Regions from separate parts of the Homo sapiens genome. Here region 1 is linked to region 2. The links are contacts of gene promoters, found by promoter capture Hi-C in blood cells and fetal thymus (Javierre and others, 2016). All regions are on one chromosome and are shown on one strand. Each heading gives the region's core, a stretch centred on a gene start or on the middle of the fragment in contact. The rest is flanking DNA. Distances are from core to core; before and after follow the strand shown.

Region 1 (3,420 bases), core at 33-2,532, 500 kb before region 2:
GGAGATGCCGTGCAGGGTCCTGGGGTGGGAAGGCATGGATTCAAGGATCACGAATGGACGAGGGTGGTGGGGTCAGAAGCTGAGTCAGCCAGCCACTGGCCCCTTTCTGGGAGCGCTGCAGAGAAATTGTGGAGACCAGGCCATATCCCAGTTCCTCAGCCAAGTCACTGTGTGGCCTTGGCCAACATGCTTCATCTCTCTGGGCCTCCAGGTTCTATCAGCACAACTGATCACAGAAAGACAATGCCCTTTGAAGCCCCCATTCTGAGCCAGCACAGTGCAGATTTCTTAATGCCGAACCACCTTCGCAACCTAGAATGAACCTACTTGTTCATAGTATGTTAGTTTGGATTCGGTTTGCTAATATTTTTTATTAAAAATTTTAGACCTAGGTTCATATGTTATTGTAGGACTGGTCCCAGTTTGTTCGCACCTCCTTGTTTCCATGGCTTTTGGTAGAAACGAGGAGGTGCAAATGACTTGGAGCTTAGCCTTGTGTGACTTGTGTTGGCCAATAAGACAAGCACAAATGTGATGCATGCAGAGACTGACAAAGTGATCACATATTGGTGAGCCCTCTTGCTACTCTTGGAACTCTTATTTAAAAATTTTTTTTGTATATGAATAAGTTCTTTAATGGTGATTTCTGAGATGTTGGTGAACCTACCACCTGAGCAGTGTACACTGTACCTGATGATAGTCTTTTATCCTTCACTACCATCCTTTTCCCCAAGTCCCCAAAGTCCATTGTATCATTCTTATGCCTTTGTGTCCTCATAGCTTAGTTCCCACTTATGAGAACATACAATGTTTGGTTTTCCATTCCTGAGTTACTTCACTTAGAATAATTGTCTCCAATTCCATCCAGGTTGCTGCAAATGCCATTATTTCCTTCCTTTTTATGGCTGAGTAGTATTTCATGGTGTTTGTGTGTGTGTGTGTGTACATATATATGTATATGTGTGTGTGTGTACATATATATGTGTGTATATATATGTAGCACATTTTCTTTACTCATTGATTGATGGGCATTTGGGCTGGTTCCATATTTTTGCAATTGCAAATTGGGCTGCTACAAACATGTGCAAGTATCTTTTTTGTAAAATTTCTTCTCCTCTGGGTGGATACCAAGCAGTGGGATTGCTGGGTCAAACAGTAGATCTACTTTTAGTTCTTTGGGGAATTTCCACACTGTTTTTCACAGTGGATGTACTAGTTTATATTCCCACCAACAGTGTAAAAGTGTTCCCTTTTTGCCACATCCATGCCAACATCTATTTTTTGATTATGGACATTCTTGCAGGAGTAAGGTGGTTTTGATTTGCATTTCCCTGATCATAATGATGTTAAGTATTTTTTAATATGTTTGTTGGCCATTTGTATATTTTCTTTTGAGAATTCTCTATTCATCTCCTTAGCCCAATTTTTGATGGGATTGTTTTTTTCTTGCTGATTTGAGTTCCTTTGTAGATTCTGGATATTAGTCCTTTGTCGAAAGTATAGATTGTGAAGATTTTCTCCCACTCTGTGGGTTGTCTGTTTACCCTGCTGGTTCTTTTGCTGTGCAGCTTTTTAGTTTAATTAAGTCCCATCTATTTACCTTTGTTTTTGTTGCATTTGCTTTTGGGTTCTTGGTCATGAAGTCTTTGCCTAAGCCAATGTCTGTGGAAGGGTTTTTCCAGTGTTATCTTCTAGAATTTTTAGGGTTTCAGGTCTTAGATTTAAGTCTTCCATCCATTTTGAGTTGATTTTTGTATAAGGTGAGAGATGAGGATCCAGTTTCACTCTTCTACATGTGGCTTGCCAATTATCCAAGCACCATTTGTTGAATAAGGTGTCCTTTCCCCACTTCATGTTATTGTTTGCTTTGTTAAAGATCAGTTGGTTGTAAGGATTTGGCTTTATATCTGGGTTCTCTAATCTTTTCCATGGTCTATATGCCTATTTTTATACCAGTACCATGCTGTTTTGGTGACTATGGCCATATAGTTTGAAGTCGGGTAATGTGATGCCTCCAGATTTGTTCTTTTTGCTTAGTCATGCTTTGGCTATGAGGGCTCTTTTTTGATTCCACATGAATTTTAGGATTGTTTTTTCTAGTTCTGTGAAGAATGTTGGTGGTGTTTTGATGGGAATTGCATTTAATTTATAGATTGCTTTTGGCAGTATGGTCATTTTCACACTATTGATTCTACCCATCCATGAGCATGGGATGTGTTTCCATTTGTTTCATCTACGATTTCTTTCAGCAGTGTTTTGTAGTTTTCCTTGTAGAGGTCTTCCACCTCCTTGGTTAGGTATATTCCTAAGTATTTTATTTATTCATTTATTTATTTATTTATTTATTTATTTATTTATTTATTTTGCAGTTAAAGGGGGTTGAGTTCTTGATGTGATTCTCAGCTTGGTCACTGTTGGTGTATAGCAGATCTATTGATTTGTGTACATTAATTTTGTATCTTGAAACTTTGCTGAATTCATTTACCAGTTCTAGGAGCTTTTTGGATGAGTCTTTAGGGTTTTCTAGGTATATGATAATCCCATCAGCAAACAGTGACAGTTTGACTTCCTCTTTACTGATTTGGTGCCCTTTATTTCTTTCTCTTGTCTGATTGCTCTGGCCAGGACTTCCAGTACTGCATCGAATAAATGGGCATCCTTGTCTTGTTCTAGTTCTCAGGGGGAATGCTTTCAACTTTTCCCCATTCAGTGTAATGTTGGCTCTGGATTTATCATAGATGGCTTTTATTACCTTAAGGTATGTCCCTTCTATGCCGATTTTGCTGAGGGTTTTAATCAAAGGGATGCTCAATTTTGTCAAATGCTTTTTCTGTGTCTATTGAGATGATCATGTGGTTTTAAATTCTGTTTATGTGGTATATCACATTTATTGACTCGTGTATGTTAAACCATCCCTGCATCCATGGTATGAAACCCACTTGATCATGGTGGATTATCTTTCTGATACAACATTGGATTCAGTTAGCTAGTATTGTACTGAGGATTTTTGCATTCATGTTCATCTAGGTATACAATCATATCATCAGCAAACAGCAACACTTTGACTTCCTCTTTACAGATTTGGATGCTCTTTCTTTCTCTTGTCTGATTGCTCTGGCTAGGAATTCCAGTACTCTGTTGAATAGAAGTGGTAAGAGTGGGCATCCTTGTCTTGTTCCAGTTCTCAAGGGGAATGCTTTCAATTTTTCCCCATTCACTATAATGTTGGCTCTGGTTTATCATAGATGGCTTTTATTACCTTGAAGTATATCCCTTCTATGCTGATTTTGGGCATAGAAGGAATACTGGCCTGCAGTTTTCGTTTTTTTGTTGTTGTTATGTCCTTTCCTGGTTTGGGTATTAGGGTGATTGACTGGCTTCATAGAATAATTTAGGAAGGATTCCCTCTTTATTTTGTGG
Region 2 (3,221 bases), core at 709-3,208:
TTTGTCTACTTTATATTTTACTTTGTAGCACTGATGCCTTATCACGTATTTATTAGTTTTTATTTTCTATCTCCAACTAGAACATCAGCTCCAGGAGGGCAAATACTTCCTGTTCAACTATTGAATCCTCAGCACTGAGCACAGGGCCTGGAATATAGTAGATGCCCAGTACAATTTGACTAATGAATCAATAAATGAATTGATAAATGTTGGTACATATATAAAGTGGAAAATTACACAACCAAAAACTATATAAAACCTATATAAACCAAAACAGGAACATACATGTGATACAATATCAAGCAAAAAACCAAGTTTCAAAATAGTAGGTGTTGTAGGGGTACCAATTTTGTAAAAGAAAAACAAAAGACATGTCTGCACGTACACATTTGTGAGCACAGCTGCCAAAAAAAGACTGCAGGGTCATGACCCAAGGTCACAGCGGGTTCTTAGGTTAGGTTATTTTAACTTTTTTTTTTTTTTTTTGAGATGGAGTCTCGCTCTGTCGCCCAGGCTGGAGTGCAGTGGCGCAATCTCTGCTCACTGCAACCTCCGCCTCCTGGGTTCAAGCAATTCTCCTGTCTCAGCCTCCCAAATAGCTGGGATTACGGGCATGTGTCACGACGCTCGGCTAATTTTTGTATTTTTAGTCGAGACGAGGTTCCACCATGTTGGCTAGGCTGGTCTCAAACTCCTGACCTCAGGTGATCCGCCTGCCTCGGCCTCCCAAAGTGTTAGGATTACGGGTGTGAGCCACTGTACCCGGCCGGTTATTTTAACTTTTATCTTTGTACTATTGTGTAAAGCTTCTCAAGATATTGCTGTTGAGTTAATATTCAAGTACTGAGTTCCTGGTGGGAACCTGGCATGCCCATGGCCCATCACACCCTCCCCCATCACCTTGACTGTGACCCCCATGCCTAAGCAGCCCTCAGTTCCTAAGGCTTTCTTCTCTCTCGCACCACGGTGTTCTAATTTTCTGGCCAGAAGCTGGACATCAATATATTCTCCTAACTCTTCAGACTCCGCAAACTCCCACTCAAGCCCCTCCATGAGTCCTCAAGCCTGTCCCTTTCCTAACTTGCCACAGCCCAGACTTGCCTCCCTCTGTCCCACTGTTACATGGACCTGCTTACAGCTCCCTGGCCCTGCCAAATGGGGTGTGGGGGTGGGACAGTGTCACACAGTTCTCTCTCCTTGGAACATTCCCCAACAAACCTGGTCTTTCCAGCTCACCTTTTCACCTGTTCTCATTGCCTTTCCTGGAAGCCAGATGACCCTCCGATCCCATGCACCCTCTCCTGCTGCTGTCCCTGTCTTCACTGTAACTTGTTCATTTACACGCCTGCCCAGTTCAAGTGCCAACTTGATCTTATTTTGTTCCCACAACCCCACGGGTTAGGAACTATCATCGTCCCTGTTTCAAGGAGGAGAAAACTGAGGCAAGGACAGGGAAGTGACATGATCAAGACAGTTAATAAATGACATAACCAGGATTTGAACCCAGGCCATCTGACTGCAAAGCCCACGGCCTGGAATTTCAGGAAGACAATAGAAAGCTAGAAAAGGAAAAAATGAAGTCAGTGGGAAGGAAGTGAGGATGTAAGTTGGTTAGTTAAGGAGGAAGAAAATTAGGCAGCTGAGAAAGCAGATAGTTGGGAGGGAAGGAAGGAAAGGAAGGAGGGAGAAGGGAAAGAAGTCGCCAAGGAAGAAAGGAAGGAAAGAAAGTAAACAGGTACTAGGAAAGATGTTAGCTAGGTAACTAGTCAATCTGGAGACCAATAGGCGAGCAGGCAGGTATCCTGCTCACAGGTGAGCCTCTCACCTGAAAACTCCAGGTTCCTGCTCAGGTCCTGGGGAGCAGCCCCATGCACGGCTCTGCCCTCTTCTCTCTCTTCATGGTCCTTCTGACTGGAGGCACAATCCTGACTTGTCAAGCAACCTTCCCAGTCAGGAATGACCTGTCACCCACTCGCTCCTGGCTCCCAAACCGGCTCAAGTTCAACCTCCCAGCCCTGCCTGCTGGAAGCTGGCTTCGGGGCCTTCCAGTTACTAATTAACCACTGGACCTGAATTACCAAGCTGGCTGCACACACTGGCTCCTGGATGGGCCCTGCCTGGGGGACTCTCTGAATTTTTTAAAGCACAACTTGTTATGTGACCATGGGCAACTGACTTCAGCTCCCTGAGCCTCATGTGAATTGGTGACGGATGGTGTGTCCTGCTGGAGGGACGGTTTCTGAAGTCCCTTTCAACACTGGAACTGCCGCACTCTCTCAAGGTCCAGCTTAAGTGCTGACTCCTACACAGCCTTCCCTGATTCCCTCCGCTGAGTCATCTTCCCTTTCGCTTGGAACCTAGTGAACCAGCAACTGAAAGGTTGGTCTCACACAACACCCTCCTCCACCCCTTCCCTAATGGGGGCCACCAGCCCCTATGTTCAGTCATTTCATGGAAACTTCCAGGACTGGGCAGCTCATTTCCCCCTGAGCCAGCCTCTGGCAATTTCTTGTGTTAAGCCGAAGACTGCCACCCACAGCCTACCCGACCAAGCACTGCCCTGGCACCGTTCTGGGAGAATCACAGCTGAGTTGAAACCTATGCCCCACTCTGCCCTTCAGAGATTTGAGGCTCAGGAACCAGAGATGAGTTCACCCTGGAGAACAGGGAAGGCTTTCTCGGGGGTTGACCCAAAGCTTCCCAGGCCCTGGGTTCTTTTTTTTTTTTCTTTGAGACAGAGTCTCGCTCTGTCACCCAGGCTGGAGTGCAGTGGCGTGATCTCAGCTCACTGCAAGCTCCGCCTCCCAGGTTCACGCCATTCTCCGGCCTCAACCTCCCGAGTAGCTGGGACTACAGGCGCCCACCACCACGCCCAGCTAATTTTTGTATTTTTAGTAGAGATGGGGTTTCACTGCATTAGCCAGGACGGTATCGATCTCCTGACCTTGTGATCTGCCCGCCTCGGCCTCCCAAAGTGCTGGGATTACAGGCGTGAGCCACCGCGCCTGGCCGGCCCTGGGTTCTAACTCAGGGCACAGGCAGGGCCTGGACCCCTGGACAGGTAAGGAAAGCTCTGCCCAGTGACCCCTCCTGAGCAGGCTGACTTTCACACTGCTTCCTCCATTGCCTTTCCATTAAAATGTCAACAACTTTCTGGTAATTCTGGTGCCTTAAACACCGGCTGCTCTGCTGTGCTCCGGAGGAGCCCTGCATGGCCACAC

What was found. The method cuts DNA at HindIII sites, captures the fragments that hold promoters and counts their contacts. A CHiCAGO score of 5 or more calls a contact.
Region 1: a contact is called between a fragment that was not itself captured here and the fragment with the promoter of SGK2 in region 2, in 5 of 17 cell types (M1 macrophages, endothelial precursors, megakaryocytes and 2 more). The highest score is 6.8, in M1 macrophages.

What each region holds. Positions count from the first base shown.
Region 1 is chr20:44,061,312-44,064,731 of GRCh38, reverse strand. The region is part of intron 5 of TOX2 (TOX high mobility group box family member 2); the gene reads right to left. Among named protein-coding and RNA genes, the nearest start is that of JPH2, 120 kb to the left of the region's middle. The HindIII fragment of the contact is 7,560 bases long and covers 1-3,420 here.
Region 2 is chr20:43,557,764-43,560,984 of GRCh38, reverse strand. SGK2 (serum/glucocorticoid regulated kinase 2) reads right to left here and starts at 1,958. Exons shown (of 13, transcript NM_170693.3): 1 at 1,826-1,958. The HindIII fragment of the contact is 1,890 bases long and covers 809-2,698 here.